Linked DNA regions of Homo sapiens: all the other regions are linked to region 3. Evidence: promoter capture Hi-C in 16 types of primary human blood cells and fetal thymus (Javierre and others, 2016). All regions are on one chromosome and are shown on one strand. Each heading gives the region's core, a stretch centred on a gene start or on the middle of the fragment in contact. The rest is flanking DNA. Distances are from core to core; before and after follow the strand shown.

What was found. Contacts are between HindIII fragments. The CHiCAGO score rates a contact against its expected background, and 5 or more counts as called.
Region 1: a fragment that was not itself captured here is called in contact with the fragment with the promoter of EIF4EBP2 in region 3 in 1 of 17 cell types (monocytes); the score reaches 6.2 in monocytes.
Region 2: a fragment that was not itself captured here is called in contact with the fragment with the promoter of EIF4EBP2 in region 3 in 1 of 17 cell types (neutrophils); the score reaches 5.5 in neutrophils.
Region 4: a fragment that was not itself captured here is called in contact with the fragment with the promoter of EIF4EBP2 in region 3 in 4 of 17 cell types (fetal thymus, naive CD4 T cells, naive CD8 T cells and 1 more); the score reaches 6.0 in fetal thymus.

The regions. Positions count from the first base shown.
Region 1 is chr10:70,190,878-70,194,262 of GRCh38, reverse strand. No RefSeq gene overlaps it. Among named protein-coding and RNA genes, the nearest start is that of SAR1A, 22 kb to the right of the region's middle. The HindIII fragment of the contact is 2,431 bases long and covers 354-2,784 here.
Region 2 is chr10:70,161,903-70,165,104 of GRCh38, reverse strand. It overlaps SAR1A (secretion associated Ras related GTPase 1A), which reads left to right. Exons shown (of 7, transcript NM_020150.5): 2 at 3,174-3,202. The coding sequence starts at 3,190. It also overlaps the pseudogene CALM2P2. Among named protein-coding and RNA genes, the nearest start is that of SAR1A, 7.0 kb to the left of the region's middle. RefSeq lists an enhancer at 635-714. The HindIII fragment of the contact is 361 bases long and covers 1,679-2,039 here.
Region 3 is chr10:70,402,354-70,405,513 of GRCh38, reverse strand. EIF4EBP2 (eukaryotic translation initiation factor 4E binding protein 2) reads right to left here and starts at 1,369. Exons shown (of 3, transcript NM_004096.5): 1 at 968-1,369. The coding sequence starts at 1,112. RefSeq lists silencers at 1,068-1,277, 1,308-1,497. The HindIII fragment of the contact is 15,348 bases long and covers 94-3,160 here.
Region 4 is chr10:70,222,577-70,225,930 of GRCh38, reverse strand. The region is part of intron 2 of PPA1 (inorganic pyrophosphatase 1); the gene reads left to right. Among named protein-coding and RNA genes, the nearest start is that of PPA1, 9.2 kb to the left of the region's middle. RefSeq lists an enhancer at 3,190-3,354. The HindIII fragment of the contact is 3,628 bases long and covers 291-3,354 here.

The sequences.
Region 1 (3,385 bases), core at 320-2,819, 210 kb after region 3:
GGGAGGCTGAGACGGGCAGATCACCTGAGGTCAGGAGTTCGAGACCACCCTGACCAACATGGTGAAACCCTGTTTCTACTAAAAATACAAAAAGATTAGCCGGGCATGTGGCTGGCGCCCGTAATCCCAGCTACTCGGGAGACTGAGGCAAGAGAATCGCTTGCACCTGGGAGGTGGAGTTTGCAGTGAGCTGAGATATCGCCATTGCACTCCAGCCTGGGTGACAACAGCGAGACTCCGTTTCAAAAAAAAAAAAAAGAGGGTCACAAACACCTCACATTCTGAGGTGCTGGGGATTAGGACTTCAATATGAATTTTTGTGGGACACAACACGTAACTCTCAAAGAGAAGCTTTGGGTGTTTGGAAAGTTCTCTTTTTCATCATCCATGCTAGATAAAAGTCATCTGGGTACTAAAGCCAAAAGAAATCTTAATTCCTGGAACAGCCCTCTTAGGAACACTTCTTGAGATTTGAGTTTGCCAGGCACTGTTTTAGACACTGGGGATATAGTGTTGAGCAAGACAGATGAGGTCACCCTGACAGTAGGATGGGCTTGGTTATGCACAGCAATCCCCCCAAATCTCAATGGCTTAAGGAAACAAAAGTTGATTCCTCACTCACATAAAGTAGGCTCTGCTTGTGGGCAGCTGTTCCCCTATGATAGCTTAGCATCACGCCTCCGTGTTAACACGTGCTTTCTCATGTCGATCAGCCTCTCGGAGGAAGAAAGTGGTGGAGCCTTGCACTGGTGATTAGGTGCTTCTGCCCAGAAGTGACGCACATCACAGACATTTCACTGGCTAGAGCAAGCCGAATGACCATGCCTGACCTCAAGGTGGTAAGGAAGTCCAGTCTTACCATGGAGTAAAGGAAATAACTGTGAGAGTGCCAGGTATTTTGACACACCTCATTTAACACAGAGAGAAATAAGCTCTTCTTATTTATTTATTAGTTAGGGTTTTGCTCTGTTGCCCAGGCTGGAGTGCAGTGGTATAATCATAGCTCATTGCAGCCTTGAACTCCTGGGCTCAAGCGATCCTCCCACCTCAGCCTCCTGAATAGCTAGGACTACAGGCATGTGCCACCATGCCTGGCTAAATTTTAAATTGTTTTGTAGAGATGGGGTCTTACTATATTGCCCAGGCTGGTCTCAAACCTCAGACTCCTGGACTCAAGTGATCTTCCCAGCTCAGCCTCTCGAAGTGCTGGGTTTACAGGGTTTACAGATGTGAGCTACCACACCCAGCCTCTTTTTTTTTTTTTTTATAAGAAAAAGATGCAGAGAACCTAAGTAATTTAGCCAAAGTCACTTAAATTTATCCAAAGTCAGTAAGTGGCTGAAGCAGGACTTAGACCCAGGTCATCTGACCTTGAGACCAGGGATTTTCCTACTAGCTTTATGTTATTTGTCTGCTTTCACAATCATTATTAGTGGGTACTTAACATGTCTGGGCTTTAGTTTTCCCATCTGCGTCACAGGATTGGCAGGAACATATGTGAAGGAGCTTGCCCACTGTCCATGTCATAGTGGGCGTTCGGTGAAGCCTGGTTGTTTATAGTTGTGATCTCAGCAACTCTTAGTGTGATCAATGCATTTTTTTTTCCCAGGTAAGGAAACTTGATGCCTTGGCCTGGTTATTTAAAGGGTCTGAATGAGAACCCAAATCACTCACCACTGAGCCCAGGCCTACACGTGCTACTGCTCTGATGGCAATTATTTTCAATCTGATAAGCATATTTGCTCTACAAGGGCCTAACTTGTGCTTTTGCACATGACGTTCTTTACATTTAGAAAAAGCTGCTCCTACTGCTTCCTGGGAGTCTCAAGGCAGAAAGGAATTTACTTTTGCATTAATAAGAATGTTGTGCAAATTGCCATGGTGGAAAAGTTTTTATGAGTTATAAATTTGAATCAATTGCTATATAGTTCATTGCTACCTCTGTCGATCTTTGAGATCTTTCCCTGATTATTACAAAACCTTTAAATTAAGGAAATACTTGCCAGGAATAAGGTTAAGCAATGAGAATCACAAGGTTATGTGGCAATCTGAACTTGAAGTCTGAGAGCAATTTGGCAATATCTATCAAAAATTTAAATTCATACTTAATCTTTGACTCAGCAATTCTAGGAATTCATTCTGCAGAACAGTCAACCAAACACATAGTATACAGCAGCTTTGTTTGCAATAGCAAAATCTGGAAAAGTACTTAACTGCCCCACAGAGGAATGGCTGAATCTGTTACTCATACCCACAGCACTTAAAGAGTGAAATCACTGCATGGACTGATATGGAAAAGATGTTCAAAATATATAAGTGAGGAGAGAAAATTGTAGTACTCTATAGTGGTAAACTATGACTTGTGGGCCAAATCCAGCCTGCTGCCTGTTTTGTAAATAAAATTTTATTGGAACATAGCCAACATCTTTTCATTTGCAAATTGTCTGTGGCTGCCTTCCGTCTACAGTGGAGTGTTCAGTAGTTAGGACAGTGACCATATGGCCCCAAAAGCCAAAAGTATTTACTGTTTGTCTGTTTACAGAAAACATTTTCCAATCCCTGCTCTATCATATGATCCTATTTGTGTTTTTTACAAAGGGAGCATTTGGAGGAAAGACGTATATCAATAGATATGCTTCTATAAGCATAGACAATGAAAATCCAAATCCAAACCACAGTTAAGAAATCTAAAACCACAGTAACAATGATTACCTCTGGGGAGTGGAACTGTGGAGTAAGCAAGGAATAGATAAGGTCAGAGAGTTTCCTTCTTCTTTAAAAGCTTCTGTACTCTTGGAATTATTTTTCTAAAAGCATATGCAGTATGCCTTATTTTATTAAAAAAAAAAATCAATGAAGTAGGAGGAGAACACTGATGAATGGTGTTCAGCACACCCAGTGATATAAATGCTGCCAGCTCTCTAAGGCAGACTTTCTCCAAGTGGTCCCTGAACTACCAGAGCTATCTGTTTAAAAAAAAAAAAAAAGCCGAATGAATCAGAATTGGGAGGTGCTGGGCCCTAAAATCCACTTTTTTTTTTAGACAATCTCACTCTGTCGCCCAGGCTGGAGTGCAATGGCATGATATCAGCTCACTGCAACCTCCACCTCCCAGGTTCAAGTGATTCTCCCACCTCAGGCTCCCAAGTAGCTGAGCCTACATGCGCACGCCACCACGCCTGGCTAATTTTTTGTATTTTTAGTAGAGATGGGGTTTCACCATGTTGGCCAGGCTGGTCTTAAACTACTGACCTTAAGTGATCCTCCCGCCTCAGGCTCCCAAAGTTCTGGGATTACAGGCATGAGCCACTGCACCCAGCCTAAAATCCACTTTTCAACCAGGACTCTGATGTTTGAAACCGCTGCTCTTGTAATAAATGCCAGA
Region 2 (3,202 bases), core at 610-3,109, 240 kb after region 3:
TTTAGTAGAGACGGGGTTTCACCGTTTTAGCCGGGATGGTCTCGATCTCCTGACCTCGTGATCCGCCCGCCTCGGCCTCCCAAAGGAAATATATTTCTTAAATGAAAGACTGGCAAATCGAAAATACTCCTTGATCCATGGGAAGCAGAATGGATGTTGTTAGTAGACATTAAAACAACATTAACTTCTTTCTGCACCTCCATCAAAGCCCATGGGTGACCAGGTGCGTTGTCAATGAGCAGTAATATCTTCAAATCTTTTTTTCTGAGCAATAGGTCTTCACAGTGGGCTTAAAATACTTAGTAAACCATGCTGTAAACAGATGTGTGGTAGGCAGAGTAGATTTAGTATAATTCTTTTTTTAATTGTAATTTTTTTAATTGGAAAACAAATACACAACTTGGAATGGATTTGAGGCAAATTGTGCCATAAGCACATTTTCTTTAAGTGGCTAAACAAAGTTTAAAAAGCAAGTAACAGTAAAAGAAAATGTTTCTGGTACAGGACCAGCAGTACAGAAAAAACAGTGTGTGAGGTACCTGGGAGTACCTGGATAATACACCCATTCTGCAGTAGTGCAACTTTTAAGTACATATTGTTGGCTGTCCGTAGTCCACACAGAGTTACAACTCCATACTTCAACACCATGCTGACAGTTCCTAAAGAAAACTACTTTAAAAAAAGGCATAACCCGGATGTTCCCTTATTTGACCAACTCCACCTAAGTTTAGATGTGCAGAAGGGCTTAGATATATCCGGAGTAAGCCACAGGCAACATGTTACTTCATCAGTTTTCTAAAATAAGGTTTCAGGGCAATGACAGTAAGGGAAGAACACATGGAGGAATGAAGTCCTGATTACCATACATGCATATTTTTTTTTGACAGTAGGGAGAAGCCTTTTACAGATAAGTTACAAACAAAAGGCAAATAAACAGTTTTGTGCAAGAAATTTAACACATTCTGTACAAGGTCTTCATTATGCTGTCATCATTTGTACAAACTCATAGTTTACTTGACCATCACCATCAGGATCTGCTTCCCTGATCATTTAATCAACTTCTTCATCTGTTAACTTCACTCCAAGGTTTGTCATCACATGGTGAAGTTCTACACCACTAATATAGCCATTGCCATCCTTATCAAACACACAGAATGTTTCTCTAATTTCTTCTTCACTGTCTGTGTCTTTCATTTTTCTTGCCATCATTGTCAGAAATTCAGGGAAGTCAATTGTGCCATTACCATCAGCATCTACTTCATTAATCATGTCCTGTAACTCTGCTTCTGTGGGATTCTGCCTGAGACCTCATTACAGTTCCTAGTTTCTTTGTTGTTATAGTTCCATCACCATCTTTGTCAAATAGTGAAAAAACTTCTTTGAATTCTACAATCTGCTCCTCAGTCAGTTGGTCAGCCATGCTGCAAGTGCTACTGGTTTCCGAGACGCAACCACACAACCACTCTGCTCGCTCACTTGCTCCACTTGGACTGATTTAGTGTCATTCTTCAGGGCCCTAGGATTTTCAAAATGGTAAATGAGTATGGGTCCTAGGATTTTCAGAATGGTAAATGAGTATGGGTCCTAGGATTTTCAGAATGGTAAATGAATATTGGCCTCAACGTAAAGTCACCTTGCATTAGCCCATAACAAGAGAGTCAGCTTGCCCCTTGAAGCTTTGAAGCCAAGCAATGACATCTCCCCTCTAGCTATGAAAGTCCTAGATGGCTTTTCAAATAGAAGGCTGTTTTGCCTACATTGAAAATGTGTTGTTTAGTGTAGCCACCCACCTTCATCAGTTATCTTGCTGCAGCTTCTACATCAGCACTTGCTTTTTTACCTCGTGTTTTTATTTTATTATTATTTTTTATCAGCAATAAGGCTGTTTCATTTTCTTGACGTTCATGGGTTTGCTGGAGTAGCACTTTTAATTTTCTTCAAGAACTTTTCCTTTGCATTTGCAATTTGGGTAACTGTTGAGTGCAAGAGGCCTAGCTTCTGGCTTATCTCAGGTTTTGATGTGTCTTCGTCACTAAGCTTAATCATTTCTAACTTTTGCTTTCAAGGGAGAGACCTGTTACTTTCACTTGGAGAATAGGGAGGCTTGGGGTGGGGGCAGGACTGTGGAGGAAGTCAAGTTTGCTGTCTTCTATGGTTGTGGTTTGTGGCACAACAAAACAATTATACTAGTAATACCAAAGATCACTGATCATAGATCATGATGACAGATATAAGAATAATGAAAAAGTTTGAAATATTGTGTGAGAATTACCAAAATGTAACATAGAGACATGAAGGGAGCACATGCTGTTAGAAGATGGTACTGATACACTTACTCAACTCAGGGCTGCTTCCAACCTTCAATTTGTAAAAAAACCAGAAAACCTCAGGATCCACAAAGTATCATCAAATGAGGTATGCCTTTATATTTTTAACTCCTAGTTCTCTGAGTATCATAGATCAAAAACTATTAGGAAACAAGTTATTTTTGCACATATAAGGATTCTAGACTCTCCTCCAGATTGCAAAATCTGTGTCAAGAAAGAATATTAGTTTCTCTTTACTTTGCTTCCTCCCCTCCCCTTCCATCCCCTCCTCCCCTTCCCCTCCTCCCCTCCCCCTCCTCCCCTGCCCCGCCTCCCCTCCCCTCTCTTTTCTTTTCTTTTCCTTTCCTTTCCTTTCCCTTTCCCTTTCCCTTTCCCTTTCCTTTTCCCTTTCCCTTTCCCTTTCCCTTCCCTTTCCTTTCTCCTGTCCTGTCCTGTCTTTTTTATCAGAGTCTCCCTCTGTTGCCCAAGTGAGTGCAGTGGCACCGTCATGCCTCACTGCAGCCTCAAACCCCTGGGTTCAAGTAATTCTTCTGTCTCACCCTCCTGAGTAGCTGGGACTCTTGGTGTGTGTCATTATGTCCAGCTATTTTTTTAGTTATTTGTAGAGATTGAGTCCAGCTTTCTTGCCCAGGCCAGTTGTGAACTCCTGGGCTCAAGTGATCCGCCTGCCTTGGCTTTCCCAAATGCTGGGATTCCAGGTGTGAGCCACCATGCCTGGCCTGCTTTCTTATTCCCGAAAACAAGAGACTATAAATGTGCATCATGGCTAGGGAACAAGAGTTAACCTCTCCACAATTGTACTGTCATTCAGAAAGCTAATGTTTGCTACTTTCATATTTTATACAGGTAGTAAGCATTAATAATGTCTTTCATCT
Region 3 (3,160 bases), core at 120-2,619:
GGCTCCTCAAAATCGCTTTCCAGGCTCCTCCCTCTGGAGGACAGCCCAGTTAGGGCACAGACAACCTTTGAGCTCTCTTCCCGTGACCAAGCTTCACCTCTACCCCAGTATTACTTATTTGTAAACAGTTCCTGGTCATGCTTTGAAAAGCAATGCCAGGGAACCACCCTCTCTCTGGATTGCCTCTCTCTAGCCCCTTCCACAGGATCAAGCAACCACCCCACCCAACTGGGGTGTCCTTGACAAAGGTCCTTCAATCCATTTCCAAAGGCGTCGCTGCCGAAAGACACCCTACCTTAAGGCTGTCAGCACCCTACCACCCCCACCTACTTTCCCTTGGCTATTACTTGAGCTTTATTTTATCACGCTCTCCTCCCGGCCTGGGGACTCCCCTCACCCGTGGGGCCTCGTCCAGCAAAGTAAACAATGCTGTCAAAGCGGGATAACGCTGGGCGAGGCTTCCAGACTCCGCATTCCAGCCTCCTCCCGGTGTTCTAAAAGCAGCAAAAACAAGCCATCGCAGGATGCCAGGGCCGAATTCCTCTCCCAAAGTTCTTTTTTAAAAAGCCCCGGAGCCAGCTCCAAAATCAAGCATTAATTTGCACAATCTACGACAGGCAATGCAGACTGTAATGCAAGGCCAAGTGGAGCCAAATCCGCCCGGGAAGGAGGCAGAGAGGAGAGAGAGAACTGGGTCGAATGCGTAAGCCTGCCACGAAGCGGAAACAAGAGCTCTTTTTCGCGACAGGACAGCCACATTCCCGAGTGGGGCGCGCGCCGACTCGAGCTGCGGGCAAGAGCGAACACGAAGTAAAGGGTCCCGAACGCTCGGGCGGGCCCAAGGGCAGCGTCCCCGGGGCTTCGGTGGAGCTGGGGGCGGGGGCGAAGCGGCCGGGCACCGAGGCGCCGAGGAGTTAGAGGACCGCGGCGGGACACCGGGCGCGGCGGACGGCTGGCCGGCGCTCACCTCCCGGTGTGGTGGAGAAGAGCGTCCCCCCGGGCGTGGTGCAATAGTCATGAGGTAGCTGCGCGGCGTCGCTGATGGCCACGGTGCGGGTGGGGATGGCGCGGCTCTGGCTGGGCTGGTGGCCGCTGCCGGCTGACGAGGACATGGCTGTGGGCGCGGGCTCTCGGCTTTGTCCGGCGGGCAGGCGGCGGCGGCGGGGCCGGGGCTGCTTCGGCTCCTCAGGCGGACGGAAAAGCGCGCTCTGCGCGCTCCTCGCTCGCTTCCTCCCGTTCCCTCGTCCCGCTCCGCTCCCGCCGCCGCCCTCTCAGCCGCCGCCGCCGCCGCCGCTCGATCCTCCGGCCTCAGCCAGCAGCCTCAGGAGCAACAGCAGCGGCAGCAGCGGCGACGACGACGACCGGAAGCGGGCGAAGGCGGGAGCCAGAGGGAGTTGGGGAAGCTGGTCGGCCGGAGGTGACGTCGCCGCGGGGCGGGGCGAGGCAGTGAGGGGCGTGGCTGAAGTTGTTGAAGGGGGCGGGGACGAGGGGCAGGGCTGAGGAAGAGAGTGGCTTAACCCCAGCGAGCGGGAGAAGAGCCAGAGGGAGCGCGAGCTAAGTGTTTGTGAGCCTGGTGAAGGCGGACAAGGAAAACTTTCTTCTTATTGTTTGTCATTGTCGGTTAACACCACTTTACTTGAGCAGACTTGAGTTTCTCATGCATTCCTATGCATTAAAAATGTAATTTTACTTTTAATTGTTCATTATTAATTCAGGCACTACATGCACGATGTACTGTATTTTAAAAATCAAACAGAGCAGAAAGGTTTATGGTGCCACTTTCTCCCAGTTTCCGAACTCCCCTCAACCGCTGTACCAGTTAATTGTGTATCCTTCCAAAGACCATCACTATATACACACATAAAGCAAGATCTAAACATTAGGAAAAGGAAGAAACCAAGAGCCACTCATGGCAACAAGAATGAGTATTATTGTATTAGAGTTAAAATGAGGCACAGGAGAGGGCTTAGACCATGAGGTACCTGAAAAATCTAGATCTGGAACTCTATTCTTTCCTCGAGGGGTTCTCAAACTTTGGGTCTCAGTACCTCTACATTCTTGAAAATTATTGAGGATTTCCAAGAGCTTTTGTTTGTGTGGATTATATGTATTGATAATTATTGTATTAGAAATTAAAACTGAGCCGCTGCTGATCACTAGTGGGATTGTACCTGTGAATAGCCACTGCATTCCGGCCTGGGCAACAGAGTGAGGCCCTGTCTCTAAAAAACAACAACAACAACAACAACAAAAAACAAATTAAAACTGAGAATGTTTTAAATGTTTATTAATTCATAAAATAATAACCTATTACATGTTGACATTATATTTTTTAATTATCTAAAACAAATAGTGAGAACAGTGGCATTATTTTATATTTTTGCAAACGCTTTAATATCTGGCTTAATAGAAAACAGCTGTATTCTCATATCTGTTTCTGTGTTCAAGCTGTTGTAATGTGTTGATTCAACTATATGAAGAAAACCCAGCCTCACACAGGTATGTAGTTAGAAAAGAAGGTTGTCTCAGATCCCCGAGGGGCTCTCCAGATCACACTTTGAGAACCGCTGCACTAGGGCAGCACTACTTCTGCCCACAACATGCCCAAGGTGGGACTGGGAAGACACTCATGGGTAAGGCCAACATAGCTACCATCATTCCCATTTTGCAAATGAGAGAAATAAGGGTAAGAGAGGTTGAGGGGAAAACAGCTATTGCTTCACTGCTCAGAGGGTCAAACAGGTGCTTGGCAAGAACATAGACAAAAGAACTTACAACAGCCCAGGGCAGGCCAGGGCATTACATGGTACTGATTTTGTGGTGAGTGCCCCAAGAATCCAGAAAAAAAAGTCCCCTGCCTGTCCTGCCATCTGGAAGCTGCCAGAGTTGCAGAGGGCTGAGTTTAACCTTGAAAGACTCTGAGACTTTGGACATGCCAACAGAGACACTTCTAGTGGAAGGAAAGGGGAAGATACTAGTTTACATTTGTGTAGAGCTTACAGTGTGTGGTTGATAAAGTGCATCAGTCCAGTAGGGGCACAGTAACTCACACCTATAATCTCAGCAATTTGGGAAGCTCAGGTAAGAGGATGGCATGAAGCCAGGAGTTCAAGACCAGCCTGGATAAAAAAGCGAGACCCTCCTCTCACATTTCTACAAA
Region 4 (3,354 bases), core at 855-3,354, 180 kb after region 3:
CTTTCGATGAAATACTTCAGGTATCCATATACTTTTAACAACTTAGAGTATATCCTTCTAGAATCATATAACCAACTTTACAGCCAAAACTTAGAATTAAGAGCCATTGTCATTTGGTGAGCAGTGAATAAGATAAAGTATTCTTGGAAATGGTGAAATCTGGTATACCTTTTCGAAAGCATCTTTATGGGGATGGAACATTTTCTTTTAACTACGTGAGCTCTTCTGATAGGGATTTTATACTCCAAAACTAGTCTATAAGTTCCAAAAAAAAAAAAAAAGTTAAAGCTTGGTTTGGATTAGTTTCTTGCTTTATGTTTATGCTCTAGATAAATTTAGAAGAAAATTCTCTCTACCTCTACTGTTTTTTCTCCAAATTTTATTGCAAAACAATAAAGATTAAAAAATGGGGGGTGGGCTGGGTGCCGTGGCTTATGCCCGTAATTCTAGCACTCTGGGCAGCCTAGGTGGACGAATTGCTTGAGCTCAGGAGTTCATGACCAGCCTCAGCAACATGGTGAAACCCGGTCTTTACCAAAAATAGAAAAAAAAAAATTAGCTGGGTGTGGTGGCAGGTGCCTGTGGTCCAGGAGGCAGAGGTAGGAGGATCACTTGAGCCCCGGAGACGGAGGTTGCAGTGAGCTGAGATCATGCCACTGCACTTCAGCCTGGGTGACAGGTGAGACTCTGTCTCTAAATAAATAAATAAATAAATAAGAGTGGTGGGACCACAGGGTGATTTTTGTGTTTCTTTCTAAGCCTGGTATTTACTAGATTTCTGAAGTTATCTAGAGAAACACACAATGAGTCAACTTGAAAATGCTAATGTCAGCCACTTGGTATAATTCTGTAGTATAGTTCATCGAATTTACCAAATCCAGGGTTAGAAATAAATCTCAATGCTGGGCGCGGTGGCTCATGCCTGTAATCCCAACACTTTGGGGGGCCAAGGTGGGCGGATCACCTGAGGTCGGGAGCTCGAGACCAGCCTGACCAACATGGAGAAACCCTGTCTCTACTAAAAATACAAAAATTAGCTGGGCATGGTGGTGCATGCCTGTAATCCCAGCTACTCGGGAGGCTGAGGCAGGAGAATTGCTTGAACCCGGGAGACGGAGGTTGCAGTGAGCCGAGATTGCACCATTGTGCTCCAGCCTGGGTAACAAGAGCGAAACTCTGTCTCAAAAAATAAAATAAAATAAATAAATAAGAAATAAGTCTCAATAAAGACACATTGAACTTAACTGCTAGGATTTAAAGACGTGCTGTAATTAAATTAAGAGCATGTTCCCTATATATGTACTTAACTGCATTAGTAATAACAGCCTACCAAATGGCCGTAGCCTATTTATTAGTAAACAACTTGTCAGACTACTGACTTGGTCCATAAGACCCTAACCAGTTTGGAGATGAGACGGGGCCTCACCATACTACTGTGATTAATATTCCTGTTTAATTAGTGAAGTTACACACCTAACCAAGATATAGGAGATATTTCTTCTATTCCTGAAACATTTTTATTTTAAATATTTTTGATTAATGGAGTGACATAATGTAGAGTTGTTGAGTTTCCAGTTTCCTTAGAATCTGGACATCTTTAATGTTTTGTTGTAACATCTTGACTACTTGATAAAATGATTGTAAATCTGGGAAGGGAAATAGACTTTTTTTTTTTTTTTTTTTTGTAGAGACAGGGTCTGTCTATGTTGCTCAGGCTGGTCTTGAACTCCTAGTCTAAGCAATCCTCTTGCCTCAGCCTCCCAAAGTGCTAGGTTTACAGGCACGAGCCACCATACCTGGCCTGAAATAGACAGTTATATTTCTGACTTTGGGAACAAGAGCTAAAGTTATAGTTTGCCTTTTCCCTTATCCCCCACTGGTTTATCAGCAAGGTAATTATTGAGTTTATCAAAATCATCCCTCTAGGGAGACTTAACTTCCTTCTTTTCTGAAACTGTTAACAGAGAGCTGAGAGCTCTGATGCCAGAGCAATGACTGAGACTCCAAAGCATGGTAGGATTGGAGGATGGAGTTCTGGGAAGTCCTAACAGTGGGAGTAACAAGATAGTAAATCCAAGATCCAGCTAAGTAAAAGCTGAAACCAGTTGGGATTAAAGAAGAAGGAATGAATTTGTAACTGGGTAGTACGAAATTTCTTAAAATCAGTATTTTTTAAGTGCGTGAATATTGGAATCATTAGAATGCATAAAAACAGTAATAGTTTTTATAGCAACTCTGTTGCTATAAAATTCATTGAATTTCTCATATCAGTTGCCCTGAAAAATCCTAAATATCACTGTTGTTCACCTAGTAGCAACTCTTTGAATTGTAGCCAGATGTCTAGAAGAAGGTTGTTCTTTAGTAGTAATTCCTGCTAAAGTATGTGGAACACCCCCTCCTTACAAGTACAGAGCTGGGCAGGATGGCTTGCACCTGTAGTCCCAGCTACTAGGGATGCATAGGCAGGAGGATCACTTGAGGCTAGGAATTAGAGACCAGCCTGCTCAACATAGTGTGACTTCATCTCCAAAAACATAATTAAAAAACAATTAGCCAGGTGTGGTGGTGCACACCTGTAGGCCCAGCTACTTAGGAGGCTGAGGCAGGAGGATTGCTTGAGACCAGGAGTTGGAGGCTGCAGTGAGCTATGATTGCGTCACTGTACTCCAGTCTGGATGACAGAGTGAGACCCCGTCTCTCTCTCTCTCTCTCTTTAAAAAAATGTTTTTTAAGAGACAGGGTCTTGCTATGTTGGTCAGGTTGGTCTTGAACTCTTGGCCTCAAGCGGTCCTCCTGCCTCTGCCTCCCAAAGTGCTAGGATTATAGACGTTAGTCGCCACGCCTGGCTGAGACAAGTATTACTACAGCATCTACATGCATTTGAAAGTGTGCTAGTATTCCATGCATAAAAAATGATGAGTTCATGTCCTTTGTAGGGACATGGATGAAGCTGGAAACCATCATTCTCAGCAAACTGTTGCAAGGACAAAAAACCAAACACCGCATTTCTCACTCATAGGTGGGAATTGAACAATGAGAACACGTGGACACAGGAAGGGGAACATCACACACCGGGGCCTGTTGTGGGGTGGGGGGAGGGGGAAAGGATAGTATTAGGAGATATACCTAATGCTAAATGATGAGTTAATGGGTGCAGCACACCAACATGCAACATGGCACATGTATACATATGTAACAAACCTGCACTTTGTGCACATATACCCTAAAACTTAAAGTATAATAATAAAAAAAAAGTGTGCTAAACATTGATTTTACAGATGAGTCACTCACCCCAAGCTGTAGCCTGAGGCCTACAAACTGGAAGTACCTGATTTAGCAGGCGAGAATTCTACC